5 separate regions of the Homo sapiens genome follow, and regions 1, 2, 3 and 4 are each linked to region 5. Evidence: promoter capture Hi-C in 16 types of primary human blood cells and fetal thymus (Javierre and others, 2016). All regions are on one chromosome and are shown on one strand. Each heading gives the region's core, a stretch centred on a gene start or on the middle of the fragment in contact. The rest is flanking DNA. Distances are from core to core; before and after follow the strand shown.

Region 1 (4,611 bases), core at 990-3,489, 250 kb before region 5:
TCTGGCAAATGGGGAATGACCTTTGGCAGGGTTGTTGTCAGCAAGTTCAGTCCTGGGCTGGATGCTTGCAAATTAAAATTCTAGTCGGCTTTGTTCTATTACTTACTGTGAATATTATCAAAGATGTACTGATCCTCTCGAGAGCATCATGGTGGGTTAAAAAGAGGAAAAAGGGGGTACAAAGAAGTAGAGAACCAAATTTCTTTCTTTGAAATATTTCCAGTATCCTCAGGCAAACAAGATACACAATTCAACTTAATACAATAAATATTTACCAAAGCTGACTTTGTGGTCAAGCCTAGGCTTGTTGGTAAAAATTCAAAGAGGAATTGAGACAGCCCCAAGAATCCTGGAAAGGTATATATTAGAACAAGTAGTATAAACAACAAGATGGTGTATGCTAAGGGTTCAATGAATTTTTGCACTGCACGTCCCATATGAATTCAGAGGAAGGAGAAATCCTTTATGTTGAGCAGAAGCATGATTACGTATAATCAGTAGTGCCTTAGCAAATACTTTGTACACACAACTTGCCCTACTAATTGCAATAAAATGTGTTTATATCTTGACCTGAGGACTTGCTACAAGCAGGGTCGTAGGACAGAAGCAGCAAGCAGGCACTTGCCAGACTTCAACCGCAAGAAGAAAAGCCAAGACCTTCAAAGCCTTCCGGAGCGGGGACAGTAAAGGAAGGAAGACAGGGAAACAGGATATAAGCAAAGGGGTCCTCTACTGGGCATAATGATGGGTTAAAATGATACTTTGACTAATTTGTCATTTTTTAAAATTTTGCTTTGTCATTATGTAGGAAGCTTAACAATTACTCAATCCTTTGATAAGTTCACAGCACATCCAATTTGCCTGGATTACATCTTTACTCACTTTTCAAGAATTTCTGGGCCAGACGCAGTGGCTCACGCCTGTAATCCCAGCACTTTGGGATGCCGAGGCGAGCAGATCACCTGAGGTCAGGAATTTGAGACCAGCCTGGCCAACATGGCAAAACCTCGTCTCTACTAAAAATACAAAAATTAGTCAGGCATGGTGTCAGGTGCCTGTAGTCCCAGCTACTCGAGAGGCTGAGGCAGGAGAATCGCTTGAACATGGGAGGTAGAGGTTGCAATGAGCTGAGATCTTGTCACTACACTCCAGCCTGGGCGATGGAGCAAGACTCCATCTCTAAAATAAAATAAAATAAATAAAAATAAAAAAGAATTCTGTCTTCCTTAGAAAAAGAAGTGAATAGGAAAGGAAGTACATTTTTTAAGACTCTACATCGGACACTTTATATACATTATCCTATTTTCTCTTGAAAATGAGTATTATTATCACCTCTACTTAATCAATGCAGAAACTAATACACAAAAGTGTAATTAACTTGCCCCAGGTAATATCGCTGAGAAATAACAGTTCGAACTCAGATCCATCTGGCTACAAAGCACGTGGTTTTAAACGACCCTACACTGATTTCCCATTGTCTTCTGTATGTACACCTAGCTATTGATGGTGATGATGATGGTGATGAGGAGAATATTGATTGCAATATGCTGATTAACTCAATTACAGAATCAGGTTCTCATGGTTCTAGAACAGAAGCAAGACAATGTTAACAACCAACACAAGAGGGACCTGTAACACCAGACTATAGGGAAATAGAGAGTTTCTAAAGCCAGCCGGCCCATGCCTGAATCCCAGGAGAGAAGCAGTCCTCGCAACACTGTTGCTGCTTCCAATACAGAGAGTTCAATATTGCATTTTAATCCGTAACTGATCCTCTGATTAATTTTAAAAATTTATTTTTATTTTTATTTTTTTTAGAGACAGGGACTTGCTGTATCACCCAGGCTGGAATACAGGGACGTGATCACAGCTCACTGCAACCTCAACATCCTGGACTCGTGCAATCCTCCCACCTCAGCCTCCTGAGTAGCTGGGACTACAGGTGTGTCACCAAGCCTGGCTAATTTTTTAAGTTGTCTGTAGAATCGGGGTCTTGCTATATTCCCCAAGCTAACCTGGAACTACTAGCCTCAAGTGATTCTCCCACCTCAGCCACCCAAAGTGCTGGGATTACAGGCGCGAGACACCACATCCAGCCATTTCATTAAATTTAAATGAGTCTGTTAATAAGACATTAAGAGGCTGGGCGAGGTGGCCCTTGCCTGTAATCCCAGCACTTTGGGAGGCTGAGGGGGGCAGATCACTTGAGGCCAGCGGTTCGAGACCAGCCTGGCCAACATGGAGAAACCCCATCTCTACTAAAAATTAAATAATTAGCCTGGCATGGTGGTGGGCACCTGTAATCCCAGCTACTCAGGAGGCTGAGGCAGGAGAATCGTTTGAACCTGGGAGGTGGAGGTTGCAGTGAGCCGAGATCGTGCCACTGAACTCCAGCCTGGGTGACAGAGTGAGACTTTGTCTCAAAAAAAAAAAAAAAGACTTTAAGATGGAATTTTGCATGGATTTCAACAAAACTACATGTGGCTTCATCATATGTGACTTTGTTTATTTTTATTTTATTTCATTTAGATTTATTTATTATCTAGATTAAATACAGAAACAATTTTTATGAAAAAACATTTTTAAGTAAACAATCCAAGGCATCTATTTTGAATGGAAACAAGGAATTTTCAAATTTAATCCCAATAACAAATCCAGCATTCTCATTAAAGAAAAGATAGTCAAATAAGGTCACTATGCTCCTGGCTGAACTGTGTGTTTTCAGGAGTGGGAGCGAGTGAGAGAGGGAGAGGATCAAATATAAAAAATCCAGAAAAGAGAGGGGAAATAGAATGAGAAACAGATGGTCTCAGATTTCCAAACCGGAACATTTTTTTTCTTTTTGGGGGTTGGTTAGTTACCATTTGTAATCTGAACCAAAAAGAGGAGGCAGTTACAATTGCCTTTTAGTGACAACTCACACAGCTGGTGGTGGCTGGAAGTCAGGCCAGCAACTTCCTGGATGCAGGGTAAGGCGAGCTCCAGGCCCTTTGCCCCACCCCACACGCGGTGCCGGCTACTGTTCCTACCGCTCCTGGTGCCTTCCAGTTTAGGGCTTGGTTCAGGCTGACTGAGAGTATCTCTGGTCCCACGGAGCCAGCCTTGGTTTGGGCCCTGTGTGTGGTTTGTTGTTGTTGTTGTTGTTGTTGTTGTATTGTTTTTTGTTTTTTGAGACAGAGTCTCCCTCTGTTGCCCAGGCTGGAGTGCAGCGGCGCGATCTCAGCTCACTGCAACCTCCACCTCCCAGGTTCAAGCGATTCTCCTGCCTCAGCCTCCCTAGTAGCTGGGATTACAGGCACGCACCACCACACCCGGCTAATTTTTGTATTTTTAGTAGAGACAGGGTTTCACCATGTTGGCCAGGCTGGTCTCGAACTCCCAACCTCAAGTGATCCACTCACCTTGGCTTCCCAAAGTGCTGGGATTACAGGTGTGAGCCACCGTGCCCAGCCCTGTGTGTGGTTTTTATACTCAGCCCTATCTATAGTGTGCTGAGCACAGAGGCCCCCGGTCCAGGGTGGAGTAGGGTATATGGTGTGTCTTTGGTTCGAAAGAGAAGCGTTTACATCTGTCAAGTCCCACTTCCATATTTCCAGTTTGCTGCCATGACACTTTCTTCAACATATCCGAAATAAATTTAGCAAACTCCTCTCTTCCTGTCCTAAATAAGCTTCTCTTCTTGAATAACCAGTTTCTGAGAATGGCATTACCATTTTCTTAGTCCTGTAGACTCAAACATTTCTCCTTAATGTCCCATATCTAAGTTGTCTCAATCTTCTAGAAAGGGTGGATTTACTTCCAAAATATCTCTTTTACCTAATTTTTCATTTTTAACTGTACTGCCAACATCCTATTCAAACAATTTCTCAACATCAAAAGTCAGTCCTTCTATATCCCCAAAAACGTGCTGATGTTTTCCTTCAGAAATGGATACCATTTTAAAGTGAAAAAAAAAAGCCTGGGTGAAGTGGCTCACACACATAATCCCAACACTTTGGGAGGTTGAGGGCACAGGATCCCTTGAGACCAGCCTGGGCAAAATAGAGAGATCCCACCTCTGTTAAATAGATAAATAAAGGGGGAAACATTCTGTAGCCCTTCAGTGTTGATGTAGCTCATTTTGTATTATGATATTATTTAAAAATATACAAAGGCCAGGTGCAGTGGCTCACGCCTGTAATCCCAGCATTTTGGGAAGCCAAGGTGGGTGAATCACCTGAGGTCGGGAGCTCGAGATCAGCCTGGCCAACTGGTGAAACCCCATCTCTACTAAAAATACAAAAATTAGCTAGGCATGGTGGCAAGTGCCTGTTATCCTCGCCACTTGGGAGGCTGAGGCAGGAGAATCACTTGAACCCGGGAGGCAGACGTTGCAGTGAGCCGAGATCGTGCCACTGCACTCCAGCCTGGGCGACAGAGTGAAACTCTGTCTCAAAAAAAAAAAAAAAAAAAAGGCTGGGTGCGGTGGCACGCCTGTAATCCTAGCACTTTGGGAGGCCGAGGCAGGCAGATCATGAGGTCAGGAGTTTGAGACCAGCCTGACCAACACAGTGAAACCCCGTCTCTACTAAAAATACAAAAAATTAACCGGGCGTGGTCATGGGCACCTGT
Region 2 (2,700 bases), core at 33-2,532, 180 kb after region 5:
GCTCAAGCTTGGTTTACCATCCCCTTCCCCTCCATTGAGTGGGGGAGGAAAAAAAAAAAAAAAAAACACAAACCTGATTCTTATCAAGCCAGTTGATAATTTCATTACACTTGTCCAGAATCTTCTGTTTGTCCTCATCGTTAATCTTGCCTTGAAGTTTCTCATCTTCAACAGTTGCTTTCATGTTGAAGGCATAGGACTCAAGTGAATTCTTGGATGACACCTTGTCCCTCTGCTTCTCATCTTCAGCTTTGTACTTCTCAGCTTCCTGGACCATACGTTCAATGTCTTCCTTGCTCAAACGGCCTAGGAAAGAAATTAACTCTAAGTAAAAGCCTTAAATTACCTGTGTATGTGTAACTCTAGTTTCTCTTAGCTAGACGCCCTTAGGCACCAGTAACTCAATTGAAATACCATTATCCCTGTCAAGACCAGATGACAGTGCCTCCTTACCCTTGTCATTAGTGATAGTAATCTTGTTCTCTTTTCCCGTACTCTTGTCCACAGCAGAGACATTGAGTATACCATTGGCATCAATGTCAAAAGTGACTTCAATCTGAGGAACACCTCGGGGTGCAGGAGGTATGCCTGTGAGTTCAAACTTGCCAAGCAGGTTGTTATCCTTTGTCATGGCACGCTCGCCTTCATAAACCTTGGTAGGAAATAAAACAAATTACTACAATGGACTCCAGGTCTGTGACAGTGCTAGGGTCCTGCTAAGGAAGAATGGTCGCTCAAACATCCAAGGAAGGAACTGGCCAACATAAGACTTTCTGGTGGAAACTACGAATGGTTTTGGAATCCATCATCATAGCGAGTCAGTCAAGACTTCCCTTTATCTGTTATCAGTAAGCCAAACAAGAGAAGTACAGAAACATACCTGAATAAGCACACCAGGCTGGTTGTCAGAATAGGTAGTGAAGGTCTGTGTCTGCTTGGTAGGAATGGTGGTATTACGCTTGATGAGGACAGTCATGACTCCACCAGCAGTTTCAATACCAAGGGAAAGAGGAGTGACATCCAAGAGCAGCAAATCTTGAACATTCTCAGACTTGTCTCCAGACAAGATGGCTGCCTGGACAGCTAGCAAACAAAAAGTTAACGTTAAAAGAAGTTAAAAGAAAACCCAGTACATAGCTCCTGTTTTAACTATCACTCGCTCAGACATCCAAGGAAGGTGTTGCCATCATTAGCCAAGCTTTTGGTGGAAACTACGAATGTTTAACAATCACTCATCACAGCGAGTCACCTTGGGCCTGCCTGCCTTTAGGGTTAATTGAGATACCATTGTTACCTGCACCATAAGCAACAGCTTCATCAGGGTTGATGCTCTTATTCAGTTCTTTTCCATTGAAGAAGTCTTGGAGAAGCTTCTGAATCTTGGGGATACGAGTAGAACCACCAACCAGGACAATATCATGAATCTGTGACTTGTCTAGTTTGGCATCTCGAAGGGCTTTCTCTACTGGGTCCAGGGTGCCACGGAACAGGTCAGCATTCAGTTCTTCAAATCGGGCACGGGTAATGGAGGTATAGAAGTCGATTCCTTCATAGAGAGAATCGATCTCAATACTGGCCTGGGTGCTGGAAGAGAGGGTACGCTTAGCACGTTCACAAGCAGTACGGAGGCGTCTTACAGCTCTCTTGTTCTCACTGATGTCCTTCTTATGCTTGCGCTTAAACTCAGCAATAAAATGGTTGACCATTCGGTTGTCAAAATCTTCTCCACCCAAGTGGGTGTCTCCAGCTGTAGACTTGACCTCAAAGATTCCATCCTCAATAGTGAGGATTGACACATCAAAAGTGCCACCTCCCAGGTCAAAGATGAGCACGTTTCTTTCTGCTCCAACCTGCCGTTAAAAACAATCTCATTTAAATTTACGATGGATCAAATTAATCTTAAAATAATCCGAACTTGCATCACAAATGGTACATACCTTTTTGTCTAAGCCGTAAGCAATAGCAGCAGCAGTTGGCTCATTAATAATTCTAAGTACATTGAGACCAGCAATAGTTCCAGCATCTTTGGTAGCCTGACGCTGAGAGTCATTAAAGTAAGCTGGCACTGTGACCACAGCATTGGTAACAGTCTAGGAATAAGGAAAAGACCACAGATTGGTAACTATTATACTTACATATATGCAAACTCCAGCAAATGGATTAATGCTGGTGAAAGAACAGCTGGAGCACCCCCCCCACCAAAATGTAAATTACTGTGTAATTGTCAAGATTCACTGGTTTCTGGTGTTGACAGACCCATCTACCTAGAGAGCCTAGGGCACTGTTGGGCACGTGGTCTTAACCCTGAGCTGAGCCCCATCTGTTCCCCTCCCTCGCCAGGTGCCAGTGCCCCCGGGAGTCATCGGGCTTTTAACTACTCCGGAATGCACCCCATACTGAAAAACCAACCTCACCTTCCCAAGGTAGGCTTCTGCAATTTCCTTCATCTTTGTCAGAACCATAGAAGACACCTCCTCTGGATAGAAGCTTTTGGTCTCTCCCTTGTATTCTACTTGGACCTTGGGCCTGCCAGCATCATTCACCACCATAAAGGGCCAATGTTTCATATCAGACTGGACAACAGCATCATCAAATCTGCGTCCAATCAGACGTTTGGCATCTGTAAAAGGTGTCAAATGAAAACACTTTCAATTTCATAGCTCTTCTGATAAAACTCAAGTCCATGATTACTCAAATACC
Region 3 (4,848 bases), core at 985-3,484, 160 kb after region 5:
TACAAATTCCAATAGGGTAAGTTCTATATAGGGAGACGGTACTGCATGGTGCTTAACATTATGGATTGAAGAGTCAGACAGAATAGTCTCCTCATTTGTTAATGGGAATACAATGTAGCTTACCTCATAGGATTATGGCAAGGATTACATGAAAGAAGGCATGTGGAGTATTTCACATAGTTGGCAAATAGTGTTTTATAAATGCTGGTTATTAATAAGAAACTAAGAACAATTTTTTTGCAGGAAGTTCACCTTTGTACCCTCAGAATCTATCATGTTGCCTAGCACCTATTAGGGGTTCAATAAATGTTCACCAGGCCAGGCACGGTGGCTTACGCCTGTAATCCCAGCACTTTGGGAGGCCAAGGCAGATGGATCACTTGAGGTCAGGAGTTTGAGACCAGCCTGGCCAACATGGTGAAACCCTGTCTCTACTAAAAATACAAAGAAAAAAAAAATTAGCTGGGCATAGTGGCATGCGCCTGTAATCCCAGCTACACAGGAGGTTGGGGCAGGAGAATCACTTGAACCTTGGAGGCAGAGGTTGCAGTGAGGGGAGATCATGCCACTGCATTCCAGCCTGGGCGACAGAGCGAGACTCTGTCTCAAAAAAAAAAAAAAAAGAAAAAGAAAAAAAAAAGAAATTCACCAAATGCGTCACCGTATCCGGGGGTCAGAAAGCATAAGGACACCCAGGAATGAAGTCATTTGCCCAAGGTCACCATGCCACATGGCTACTTCGAAGCAGACCTTATAAATCTCCACAGTGTGGGTGCCCTGGAAGTCTCTCGTGCCCTAAGTGTTTAGATGATACCTGACTGAGCATAAGTCCTGGGGAGAAAGATTCAATCAAAGTTCCAAATCTGATTCTATTCCAGCCAGAGCTGAGTGAGTGTCTGTCTCTCCTTTTCCCTGGGCCTGTCACAATCTCAACAAATAGGCTTTTAAATTAAGTAGTGATTTGGAATGTAAGTGAGTGCATTTAAGATGATAAGAGACGGAGAGATCCTAATGGCTGAAATATTTGTCATATCACAAGTAAACGGAGTGTTTCGGGGAGTCACTAATATAACTAATTTTTTCCAAATCCTCCTCTGCTCTGTGTGGGAAGATGAGGTCAGTGCAGGTTGAGCCAGCCCGGAGTGAGCAGCTGCCAGGGGACTGAAGAGAATACTGATGGATGGCTGAGGCGCCCGGACAGTTCGCCTCAGGAAACCAGAGCCCACTTGTTCAAATTAAGCTATGGATGCCCAACAACCGGTGGCAGGCTGCCACGAATGAAAAGGTGGGGAAATGAATGCACAGCCCAGCCCGCCTCCCCCGGAGAGTGGAGCTGTGCTGTCGGTTTGGGCTTGGCCCCTATGCTGGGGGGTGTCTGAAAGGAAGCTGGAAGTAATCTAACGCAGCTCCCTCCTCCTCGCACCCTGACACCCCATTCTTGAATATCCTCTGCAGCAAGCCCAAATCATTTTAGTCAGACCTCTTGTTGGTGGCTCCTGGAGCCTGGTATCTCACTACCTCCGTGGCAGCCCACTTTCCTTGGCAGATCCCAGAGGTATATTCGGCACTCACTGTCCAAAATGAATAGCCCCCTCAGTTAGGCTTGGTGTCTCGAGTGTTTAGGCTTACAGCCAAAACCCAAGTTCCAGTCTTTTATTTATTTATTTATAAATTTTAAGTTGTCTATTATTTATTTATTTATTATTTTTATATTTATTTATTTTTGAGAAGGAGTCTCACTCTGTCGCCCAGCCTGGAGTGCAATGGTGCGATCTCGGCTCACTGCAACCTCCGCCTCCCGATCAAGTTCCACTACCACATTTGCTCTGCAGCCTTCAGGCAGAAACAATACCTTTGCTGAGACGCCTTCTTCGTTTGTAAAAATGGGAATGACATTTGCACCATGGCTTTTCACAATGGCAAGTGCTGGTGGAAAGAGAGAACTGGTCATTTCACCTGAACCTCACATTAATTTGGGGCCTTAAGTTTAGATTTTGACATTATCTTAAAATAAATACACATTCAGGCCAAGCACGGTGGCTCACACCTGTAATCCCAGTACTTTGGGAGGTCAAAGTTCCCAAAATCCTCCCATGTTTGGGAGGCTGGTCAGAAGTTCAAGATCAGCCTGGCCAAACATGGTGAAATTGTCTCTACTAAAAATACAAAAAATTAGCCGGGTGTGGTGGCACGCGCTTGTAATCCCAGTTACTCAGGAGGCTGAGGCACACGAATCGCTTGAACCCGGGAGGTGGACTTGCAGTGAGCCGAGATTGTGCCATTGCACTCTAGCCTGGGCGATAAGGTGAGACTGTCTCTCTCACACACACACACACACACACACACGCACACACACACACACACGCACACACACACACACACACACTCAGCCAAAGAGAAATACTGATAAGACTAAAAGGAAATGATCACCCAGGAGCAGTGGCTCATGCCTATAATCCAAGCACTTTGGGAGGCTGAGACCAGTGGCTTGCTTGGGCCCAAGAGTTCCAGACCAACCTAAGCCACATGTCAAAACCCCATCTCAATTAAAAAAAAAAATAGGAGATGTTCCTCGTTGGAAATGTATGAGTCATTTTTGGGCCACCCCTTCTGCAGCACACACTAATGGGATTTTTAAAATACATTTTTGTCTAGGACGAGTATTTAGCATTGCATTTTTTAGGTAGTTTGTTTGTTTGTTTTAAGACAGCGTCTCACTCTGTCATCCAGGCTGGAGTGCAGTGGTACAATCACAGCTCACTGTGGCCTTGACCTCCTGGGCTCAAGCCATCCTTTCACCTCAGCCTCCCGAGTAGCTGGGACTACAGGCACATGCCACCACATTTGGCTAATTTTTTAAACTTTTTGTAGAGATGGGCTCCCACTATGTTGAACTCCTGGGCTCAAGTGATCCTCCTGCCTGGGCCTCTCAAAATGCTGGGATTACAGGCAGGAGACACCATACTTGGCCAGCATTGCGTTTTTGTTTACTTTTTAAAAATTTTTTTGTAGAGATGGGATCTGGTTTTCTGCCCAGGCTGGTCTCAAACTCCTGACTTCAAGTGATCCTCCTGCCTCTTCCTCCTAAATTGCTGAGATTACAGGCATGGACCACCATACCTGGCCAGCATTGCATTTTTTTTTTTTTGAGATGGAGTCTCGCTCTGTCACCCAGACTGGAGTGCAGTGGCCAGATCTTGGCCTCCCCCCGGTTCACGCCACTGTCCTGCCTCAGCCTCTCGAGTAGCTGGGACCACAGGCGCCCACCACCACGCCCGGCTAATTTTTTGTATTTTTAGTAGAGACAGGGTTTTACCGTGTTAGCCAGGATGGTCTCGATCGCCTGACCTCGTGATCTGCCCGCCTCGGCCTCCCAAAGTGCTGGGATTACAGGTGTGAGCCACCACGCCCAGCCCAGCATTGCATTTTAAAAAGCATTCACTCTTCAGAGAAATGTGAGAAAAAAAGAAAGAAAAATAAATAAGTAAATAAAATAAAAGCATTCACTCATTAAATATAAAGTTTTAAATATATCACAATTTTTATAATCTTGGTTTGACATTTCTTAATATCCTAAGAGCCTAAAAAAATGTAAATATTCCAGGTTTCTGTCTAAGAGGTTCTGTCCTTGCCTCCTTGTGACATTATTGTTGCAATCAAATAAGATTAGAAATGTAAAATCAAGCCAGGCGTGGTGGCTCACACCTGTAATCCCAACACTTCGGGAGGCCGAGGCAGGTGGATTACCTGATGTCAGGAGTTCGAGATCAGCCTGGCCAACATGGTGAAATCCTGTCTCTACTAAAAATACAAAAATTAGCTGGGCATGATGGTGCGCACCTGTAGTCCCAGCTACTTGGGAGGCTGAGGCAGGAGAATCACTTGAACCCGGGAGGAAGAGGTTGCAGTGAGCTAAGATCATGCCATTGCACTCTAGCCTGGGTGACAGAGCAAGATTCTGTCTCAAAAAAAAAAAAAAAAAAAAACCACAAAATATAAAGTCAGTTTTTCATAAAAAGGTTCTGTATATTATATAAGGTATTTAAAATAGTCAAATTCATAGAAACAAAAAGTATCACAGTAATTGCCAGGGACTTGGGGGTGGGGAAACTGATAATCTGTTGAATGGGTTCATTCTGCAAGATGAAAAAGTTCTGGAGATGAGTTGCACAATGATGTAAATATACTTAACACTACTGAACTGTACACTTACCAATGATTAAGATGGTAAATTATATGTTATGTGTGTTCTACCACAGTTAAATTTTTTTACTCTTAAAAATTTTTTTAAGTTGTCTATAAATTAGTTGCTGCTGCTATTTTTTATTAATACTACTAACAGTAATTATATACTGTCTTTCTTTAAATATGTATTGAGTATTCACTATGTGTCAGGTGCTGTGTAGACCCTAGAGAGCTTTTTAACTTATATGGTGAATAAATATAATATGATGGCCAGGCACGATGGCTCACATCTATAACCCCAACACTTTTGGAGGCCAAGGTGGGAGGATTGCTTAAGGCCAGAAGTTTGAGGTGACCAGCCTAGACAACATAGTGAGACCATGTCTCTACAAAAAACATTAATTAAAAACTTAGCCAAGTGTAGTGGCACACACCTGTAGTCCCAACTACTTGGGAGGCTGAGGCAAGAAGATTGCTTGAGTCTAGGAATTTGAGGCTACAGTGAGCTATGATCAATGACACCACCGTCCTTCTGCCTGGATGACAGAGTGAGCTCTTGTCTCTAAAAAAAAGAAAAGAGGGTCGGGCACAGTGGCTCACGCCTGTAATCCCAGCAATTTGGGAGGCCGAGGCAGGTGGATTGCTTGAGCTCAGGAGTTCAAG
Region 4 (4,298 bases), core at 760-3,259, 220 kb after region 5:
GTTGGCCAAGCTGGTTTCAAACTCCTGACCTCAGGTGATCAGCCCGCCTCGGCCTCCCAAAGTGCTGGGATTACAGGCCTGAGCCACCATGCCTGGCTTTTTTTTTTTTTTTTTTTTTTTTTAATCCAGATTCTCCCTCTGTAGCCCAGGCTGGAGTGCAGTGCTGTGATCTCGGGTTCATGAGTAACTGGGATTACAGGGTTGCACCACCCACCGAGCTATTTTTTTTAGTAGAGATGGGGTTTCTCCATGTTGACCAGGCTGGTCTCAAACTCCTGGCCTCAAGTGATCTGCCCGCCTCAGCCTCCCAAAGTCTAGGATTACAGGCATGAGCCACCGCGCCCGGTCCTGGGTTCTATTTTTTTTTTCCCCAGACGGAGTCTCGCCCTGTTGCTCAGGCTGGAATGCAATGGCGTCATCTCAGCTCGCTGTAACCTCCGCCTCCCAGGTTCAAACGATTCTCCTGCCTCAGCCTTTCAAGTAGCTGGGATTACAGGCAGGCGCCACCATGCTCAGCTAATTTTTTGTATCTTTAGTAGAGACGGGGTTTCACCATGTTGGCCAGGCTCGTCTCGAATTCCTGACCCCTTATGATCCACCCGCCTCAGCCTCCCAAAGTGCTGGGATTACAGGTGTGAGCCACCGCGTCCGGCCTCTGTCTTTAACTCCAAGGCTTAGCAGTGCTCATGGGGGCTGCTGAGCTTGTCTGCCATCTGATGGGTGAGAGGAAAGGGGCAGTCTGACCATCCTGTGGCTAGCCTTGGATTGCGTGGGCACTGGAAGATTCATCTTTGTTAGGAAAGACTTTAGAGATCATCAGTTTAACTTATGAGGAGATTGCACCCCAGAGAATTGAGATGTCACGTCACAAAACTAATTAGTGGCAGAATTGCAAGTAAGGGAATAGTCTCTGCTAGGATTCTGTTGCAGCATTTACCTATGGGAAGAGGTGCTGAGTGGTGGCAGTGGTAAGGACTGCCTCCTTAGGCACAGGCAGAATGCCTTCAGGGAAGCCGCAAGCTCTCCCTAAGTGGGAGCTTTTGCATGCACCTCAGGCACTTATCAAAGGACCTCTGGGAGCTTGAGAAAATTACCTTCTGAGCCTTAGTGTTTCCATCCGCAAAATGGGAATTAAAGAAGACACTGAGGAAAGCAGCTAGCATTGTGAAAGCACATAGGAGTCTCCCATTAAAATGTTAGTTCTCTTCCCCTGCTCATCTCTGCTAGAAGGGACTTTTTCTCACATGACTGCTGCCTACACTCAATTAAGAGTAGTTTAAAGTTTTATCCTCTAAAAGGTATTTACATTTATTTCCTTCCCTTCCCTCCCTCCCTCCCTCCCTCCCTCCCTCCCTTCCTTCCTTCCTTCCTTCCTCTCTCTCTCTTTCTTTCTTCTTTTCTTTCTTTCTTTTTTTTTGAGATGGAGTCTTGCTCTGTCGCCCAGGCTGGAGTGCAGTGGCACAATCTTGGCTCACCACAACCTCCGCCTCCTGGGTTCAAGCGATTCTCCTGCCTCAGCCACGTGAATAGCTGGGATTACAGGCATGCGCCACCACACCTGGTTAATTTTGTATTTTTAGTAGAGACAGGGTTTTGCCACGTTTGTCAGGTTTGTCTCAAACTCCTGACCTCAGGTGATCTGCCTATCTTGGACTCCCAAAGTGCTGGGATTATAGGTGTGAGCCACTGTGCCAAGCCGTATTTACATTTTCTCATAGATTCTCCTGAACCTTAAGACCCCCTTCAAAGAGATGGGCAGGAGGAACTGTGGTTTTTGTTTGTTTGTTTTTTGTTTTTTTTTTTTTGAGACAATCTTGCTCTGTCACCCAGGCTGGAGTACAGTAGCGCAATCTCAGCTCACTGCAACCTCCGCCTCCCGGGTTCCAGCGATTCTTGTGCCTCAGCCTCCCGAGTAGCTGGGATTACAGGCCCACGCCACCACGCCTGGCTAATTTTTGTATTTTTAGTAGAGACGGGGTTTCACCATGTTGGCCAGGCTGGTCTCGAACTCCTGACCTCAGTGATCCACCCACCTCAGACTTCTGAAGTGCTGGAATTACAGCTGTGAGCCACCATGCCCTGCTATTATGAGATTTTATTGTGATTTTATTCTATTTTTTTTTTTAGCTCATCAGCTGTTGTTAGTGTATTTTATGTGTGGCCCAAGATAATTCTTCTTCTTCCAGTGTGGCTCAGGGAAGCAAAAAGATTGGACACTCTTGAACAGTTTATTAAATTTGTATGCCTTTTCTCCTATTAATCTGCCTCTTGTCAGTGCTTTTCAATGAACCTTCAGCGGGCAGACGGGAAGTTTTCCCTTCACCCCAGCTACATATATAATTCTGTAGGAGGTGTGTGTGTGTGTGTGTGTGTGTGTGTGTGTGTGTGTGTGTGCGCGCGCGCGCGCGCACGTGCCTGCCTTCCAGATTGTTTATGGAACACTGTATGCAGTTCAAGACACAGCATGATGCAATAGAAAGAGGATGAGCTTTGGAGTCTGAGAGGTCTGGACTTGAGTAGTGGCTGTAAGACCAATTAATTCCCTGATTGCTCCAAGTTGTTTACTTTTCCGTAAAAGGAAAATAAAAACATCAACTTTGGAAGTTATTGTAAGCATTACATATGATGCATGAAAGTGTCTAGCACTGGCGCATGGTATGTAGCACACACTCAGCAAATGGCAACTACTATTAATAATTGTACTTGTGGCTGGGTGCAGTGGCTCACGCCTGTAATCCCAGCACGTTGGGAGGTCGAGGTGGGCGGATCACGAGGTCAGGAGATCGAGACCATCCTGGCTAACACAGTGAAACCCCGTCTCTACTAAAAATACAAAAAATTAGCCCGGCGAGGTGGTGGGCGCCTGTAGTCCCAGCTACTCGGGAGGCTGAGGCAGGAGAATGGTGTGAACCCGGGAGGCGGAGCTTGCAGTGAGCCGGATTGAGCCACTGCACTCCAGCCTGGGCGACAGAGCGAGACTCCGTCTCAAAAAAAAAAAAAAATAATAATAATAATAATTGTACTTGCTGCATTTTTTTTTTTTGAGACAGGGTCTCAGATGCTCTTTCTGCCAGGCTGGAGTGCAGTGGCACAATCATAACTCACTGCAGCCTGAACTCCCTGGGCTCAAGTGATCCTCCCACCTCAGCCTCCCAAGTAGCTGGGACTATAGGCTTTCACCACCATGCCTGGCTAATGAAATTTTTTTTTTTTAATTTAGACGGAGTCTCACTCTGTCACCCAGGCTGGAGTGCAGTGGCGTGATCTCAGCTCACCGAAACCTCGGCCTCCTGGGTTCAAGCGATTCTCCTGCCTCAGCCTTGTGAATAGCTGGGATTATAGGCGCATGCCACCACATCTGGCAAATTTTCGTATTTTTAGTAGAGATGGGCTTTCACCGTGTTGGCCAGGCTGGTCTCAAAGTCCTGACCTCAGGTGATCCTCCCACTTCAGCCTCCCAAAGTGCTGGGATTACAGGTGCGAGCCACCGCACCTGACCTAAATTTTTTTTTTTTTTTTTTTCAGAAACAGGGTTTCACTATGTTGCCCAGGCTGGCCTCAGGCTCCTGAGCTCAAGCAGTCCTCCCGCCTCGGCCTCTGAAAGTGCTGGGATCACAGGCATGGGCCACCACCGTGTTGCATTTTGAAAGACAGGGAAAACCAGAAAACATACCACATGGACAAACCAGGATTGTGAAAAGTTTGGAAGTCATTTTGCTTCATCACTGTTAGCATTTGGCTATATTTGCTCGCTTTTGTGTGCTCTCTCCTATTTTTTTTTTGTTGTACCAGTTGAAATCAAGTTGTGGATGGCATGACACTAAGTCTAAATGTTGCAGTGCACATCTCCTAAAAATAAGCATGTTATTCCTCACAACAACAGCCATCTTAGCACACCTAAGAAAATTGATAATATTGTAGAGAAGGTCATTCCTGACGAGCAATTAAGGAAGACTGCAGTGAGTAAGGATGGAGGTAGTTCTGGAGAGACAGGCATGTTTTTACCACACAGAGGGAGGGAAAAGAATTCTAGACGGAGGGAGCACCTGGAAGCTAATGGCACCACCTGTCCTCTCCGATCAGCTCCCCCTAGCCTCCCTTGTCACGAACTAGTGAAGTTCCTCTGCCATTTGCTTTCCCAATCCCACACCCAGCCCAACCCCAGAACCTCTCCAGTCCACTCCTTTTATGAGAGTCTTCAGAAGAAGAAGACCATATTTACTATGAGCTGCTAAATCCCTGACATTTTACTGTCTTTTTAAATACAAACATATATTTGGTACTTAAACAGTTTAAAG
Region 5 (4,615 bases), core at 539-3,038:
AAAGACATTTTCCAATTTCCTGTGTTTCCTATCATTAATGAGGCAACTGGTATTGAAGCATTCTTTTTTTATTTTATTTTATTTTTTTGAGATGGAGTCTCGCTCTGTCACCCAGGCTGGATTGCAGTGGCACATCTCAGCTCACTGCAACCTCTGCCTCCCCGGTTCAAGCAGTTCTCCTGCCTCAGCCTCCCATGTAGCTGGGACTACAGGCGTGCACCACCACGCCCAGCTGATTTTTGTATTTTTAGTAGAGACGGGGTTTTGCCATGTTGGCCAGGCTGGTCTTGAACTCCTGACCTCAGGTGATCCACTCGCCTAGGCCTCCGAAAGTGCTGGGATTACAGGCATGAGCCACTGTGCCTGGCCGAAGAATTCTCTTTTTTTTTTTTTTTTTTTTTTGACAAGGTCTCACTCTCACCCAGGCTGGAGTGCAGTGGCACAATATTGGCTGACTTCAGCCTCAACCTCCTGGGCTCAGGTGATCCTCCCACCTCAGCCTTCCAAGTAGCTCGGACTATAGGCACGCGCCACTACGCTCAACTAATTGTTAAAAATTTTCGTAGAGACAAGGTTTTGCCATTTTCCCCAGGCTGGTCTTGAACTCTTGGGCTCAAGCAATCCTCCAGCTCGGTTTCCCAAAATGCTGGGATTACAGGGTGAGCCACTGCACCTGGCCTCAAACCAATCTTTGAAGGTAGTTATTCAAATCTACTTGTTGTTTTAATGTGAAGATAATTCCTAATGCTTCCTTTCTTTATTCTTTTTTGAAACCTTTTTTGATAGTGAAATATTCTACCCATACATAAATGTACAGCTTAATGAATTTTTACAAGATGAACATCTATATAACCATCATTAAGGTCAGGAAATACAGTCTCAAAAACATTCTTCTCCCTACCTGCCAGAACCGACCACAATCCTAACTTGATGGGAATCACTAAGTGGGTAGTGTTTCCCATAAAATTGCTTTTTTGCTTTTTTTCATAGTTTCCTCCACTAAGTATGGAGCCACAATCACTGTAGAGTGTAATTTAGCCTGTTTTTTATATACAAAAATCATACAGTATGTACTTTTTCTGGGTTTTTGTTGTTGTTCAAAATTGTGTTTTTAGTATGCCTCCATATTGTTACACATAGTTGTATTTCATTCATTTACAGTGCTATGTAGTATGCCAGTATAGGCAATAGCATAATCTAATTAACCATTCTTTTGATGGATAGTTCAGTTATTTCCAGTTTGCATGCACAGGAGCACGCACTTCTTAGGGTAAATACCTAAAAGTGAAATTGCTGGATCCCAAGGCATACATATCCTGGCTAATGTCAAACCATTTTCCAAAATGGTTGGTTGCATCGGTTCTCACGTCCGCCCGCAGAAGGTGACGGTTCTTTGCACTACGTCCTCCCTAGCACCTGACGCTGCCAGACGTTTCAACTTTGGACTTTTCGACTCAACTTATGGTGAGTGTGGTATTATCCGCTGTGGTTTTAATTGGCCTTCTTCTGATTATTAATGAATTAAAGCATCATTTCAATAAACAGATATTTATTGGCCATTTAGATTTCTCGTGTGTTTGTGAAATACCTTTCCATTTACCCATTATTTAATTGGGTTCCTTTTCTTCTTGATTTGTAGCAGTTCCTCGCGTATTTTAGTAGTTTTATTTGTGGCAAAGATCTCCTCCCCCGGGTGGCCTCTGCCCTCCGGCGCTGGGAAGTCCGGGCGGCGAGGCAGCCTCTCCCGGGGCGTTCGGGCTCCTCCGGCTCTGCCCCGATGTCGTTATTACGGCCGTTTGCAGCCTCCGTGCCAGGGCCGGGGGTGCGGTTCGGGACGCGGGATCCTAGGTCGGGTCCTGCCCCGCCCATGTGGCGCCGGCGTCTGTGTTGTCTGCGGTCTCCAGGGCAGCGCCGGGGCGGGCGGGGGCCCGGGCGGCGGCGGCGGCGGCGCGGGAGGATGCGGGGCCCGTCCGGGTCGCGGCCGCGGAGGAGCGCCGGGCAGGTGACGGGCGGTGGCCTCCCGGATCTGGGGTGGGCGGCGCGCCCGGGGAGGGAAACGGGAAGGGCTTACTGGGGATGGGGACGGCAGGAAACCACCCAAGCAAGCTGGGGAGGAGCCGGCGCGGGAGCCTTCGGGACGGAGTGGGGAGCGACAAGGGGGCGAGGCCGCGACAAGGGGCTGGGGGGCCGCCATGCGAGGCTTCGGCGCCCGGGCACCCAGAGCAGCCCTGTTCCCGGTCAATTAGGACCGGTCCCGGGCACCAGGCCCGCCGACTTGTCACTTCCTGGACCTCCAAACGCCCCTTGTGACAGGCCTTGTTCCTCAGGAACAAGCAAAGGTAGAAAACCGAACGCCTCCCCTGGGCAGCTTCCGGCCTGTTTCAAACCAGGGTTCGTTCCTTTTTCTTTACGATTCATCTTGGTGAGCCCAAGCAGGGTTCCTTTTCCCCTCCAGGAGAAAGTTCGATTGTCCCATGCTAGTGGACTAGACCCACTGCAGGGATCCCTGGGGAGCTGGCCGCTTCTTAGTCCCTAGGTGCCATCGGATCTATCGCTGTCTTGTTTATTCAGGAGACTAGTCACCTCTCTTGGTCAGAAATTTCAGCGGCACAACCTTTTTTTTTTTTCACTGGACGGGAGGAGGGAGCCACATTCATGAAATTTAAACGCCCACTTTCTAACTTATTCAAGCTGTCAGCTGTTCCTTCTTCCACCCCATGTTTTGGTAAGATCAGGCCTCCACAGAAAACCCAGCTTTTGTGGCGTTTGGCTTTGCTCTTTGCATACTTTAGCAAACTTCAGGAATCTGCTAACATCAGCAAAATTATCTTCTGTGGTTACTGTTTTATTTTTTATTCATTCCAAGAAAGCTTAGCCTATTTCATTTAAGAAGAGAAGTTCAAGGGACTGAATTATTTTAAGAGTAATTCTAAGTTGCACTATAACGCTTAAGCTTGCTCTTCAGGATCTCAAATTCAGTGACCTTAGCTCCTCCAGTAAAACCGGTGTTAAACAATCTCTTTTACTTAAAATGTGTTAGTATTTGATAGATTTGCTGCTTTCTTGGCACATCCTAAAAAAGCAACAATTAAAATAATAAGGCAGAATGCAATATGTATTTTAAAAATAAGAGACAAAATAATACAACAAACCAGTCTGTAATATTAGAGAATAATATGTTAGTCTACCAACAGGGCAGACTTCGAGTTCAATAGAAAACTCACTTCGTGTGTATTTACATATGAACGTTCCCTTTTGCCTGTTGTTTGTTAAGGTGCTTTCCTCCAAGGATTTGATGATGCTCCTTGCAAACATTAGCAACAAGGTCAACATTATAAGCAATCCTAGGAATAGTAATAAGGTTGTGTCATTTAATTAAAGTTAGGATTTGCCAAAAGAACAAGAGCAAGCCATTAAGACAAATTTTACAGCAATTTCTAATGGTAAAGGTTTCTGTTACCTGACTCACAGAAAAAAAAAAAATGGGTATAAAGGCAGTGAGATAGAAAATAGACCAAAATAGAAATGCTAGGTAGAGATGAAAGGAAGCACAATCCAAAAACATCATGTCCGTTCGGTCCTACATGAACTCAAAGCACCCTTTCCATGGCTCTTTATAATGACCCTTACAGACAGTGCAGGTTCACTTGAATCACACTCGTAAGTGAGTTGGAAGGGACTCCAGCTAACTCTTAGCTGTAATTCAGGCCAATCTCCCACCCACTCAACTTTCCCCAGGATAGCATCCCGTTCGGTAATGTAGACCTCCAGGCTCTGCTTTGGATCGCTCAGTGGCAGAATTCACAAGACCACTAAATCTTTTGTTGAACAGTTTTATTTATTTTTTCTGATAGGGTCACGTTCTGTTACCCAGGCTGGAGTGCAGTGGCACTCCAGCTCACTGCAGCCTCTGCCTGCCCGGCTCGAGTGACCCTCCTCCCACCGCAGTCTCCCGAGTAGCTGGGACTACAGGCCCATCCCACCATGCCCACTAATTTTTTGTATTTTTTTTTTTTTTTTGTAGAGATGGGGTTTTGCCATGTTGCCCGGGGTGGTCTTGAACTCCTGGACTTAAGCGATCTGCCCACCTTGGCCTCCCAAAGTGCTGGTATTACAGGCGTGATTGTTGAACAGTTTTAATCGTTATTATGGGTTTTAAAAAATACCGGATGAGGTTGATCTCCATTTATGTCCACCTAAATTATATGTTCCTATCTAGTCACAACCTGGCTATCAGAAAGTCTTTTCCAAATGATGTTGCCAGCCCATATAGGTCTAGGAACAAAACAGCTTCCCCATTTACAGTTCCAACTATGGAAAACTACACTCTTCTTTCTTCTTACTTTACTTTCCAAAACATAGCCCCTGAACCTGTTTTACTCTATCCATGAATAACTACGGACCATATTTATATTGCCCATAGTTATTTGGGCATTTGAAATAAGGCTATCAAAGTACTGTCCATAATTAACCATTTGTCTTAGTCCAGGCTTGTCTGTAACAAGCCCTTGGAAGCTAGAAATAGGAATCCACTTCCAAGCAGCCATTTATTTCATCAATAAAACTGCATTCGATTACTCAGGCTGCTTATGAGCGCTACATCAGATGTGTTTCT

Evidence for each region. Contacts are between HindIII fragments. The CHiCAGO score rates a contact against its expected background, and 5 or more counts as called.
Region 1: a contact is called between a fragment that was not itself captured here and the fragment with the promoter of JHY in region 5, in 2 of 17 cell types (total CD8 T cells and M2 macrophages). The highest score is 6.3, in total CD8 T cells.
Region 2: a fragment that was not itself captured here is called in contact with the fragment with the promoter of JHY in region 5 in 8 of 17 cell types (total CD8 T cells, naive B cells, M2 macrophages and 5 more); the score reaches 8.5 in total CD8 T cells.
Region 3: a contact is called between a fragment that was not itself captured here and the fragment with the promoter of JHY in region 5, in 2 of 17 cell types (megakaryocytes and naive CD8 T cells). The highest score is 5.8, in megakaryocytes.
Region 4: a fragment that was not itself captured here is called in contact with the fragment with the promoter of JHY in region 5 in 3 of 17 cell types (naive CD8 T cells, total CD8 T cells and naive CD4 T cells); the score reaches 6.7 in naive CD8 T cells.

What each region holds. Positions count from the first base shown.
Region 1 is chr11:122,631,780-122,636,390 of GRCh38, forward strand. No RefSeq gene overlaps it. Among named protein-coding and RNA genes, the nearest start is that of UBASH3B, 22 kb to the right of the region's middle. The HindIII fragment of the contact is 2,858 bases long and covers 811-3,668 here.
Region 2 is chr11:123,058,179-123,060,878 of GRCh38, forward strand. It overlaps HSPA8 (heat shock protein family A (Hsp70) member 8), which reads right to left. Exons shown (of 9, transcript NM_006597.6): 3 at 2,415-2,620; 4 at 1,938-2,090; 5 at 1,295-1,850; 6 at 881-1,083; 7 at 454-652; 8 at 74-306. SNORD14D (small nucleolar RNA, C/D box 14D) reads right to left here and starts at 817; the gene lies at 731-817. SNORD14C (small nucleolar RNA, C/D box 14C) reads right to left here and starts at 1,244; the gene lies at 1,157-1,244. The HindIII fragment of the contact is 172 bases long and covers 1,197-1,368 here.
Region 3 is chr11:123,039,013-123,043,860 of GRCh38, forward strand. No RefSeq gene overlaps it. Among named protein-coding and RNA genes, the nearest start is that of SNORD14E, 17 kb to the right of the region's middle. The HindIII fragment of the contact is 6,954 bases long and covers 1-4,848 here.
Region 4 is chr11:123,104,032-123,108,329 of GRCh38, forward strand. The region is part of intron 1 of CLMP (CXADR like cell adhesion molecule); the gene reads right to left. Among named protein-coding and RNA genes, the nearest start is that of HSPA8, 44 kb to the left of the region's middle. The HindIII fragment of the contact is 4,616 bases long and covers 1-4,298 here.
Region 5 is chr11:122,880,971-122,885,585 of GRCh38, forward strand. It overlaps JHY (junctional cadherin complex regulator), which reads left to right and starts at 1,789. Exons shown (of 9, transcript NM_024806.4): 1 at 1,789-2,002. RefSeq lists a silencer at 1,908-2,267. The HindIII fragment of the contact is 12,251 bases long and covers 1-2,868 here.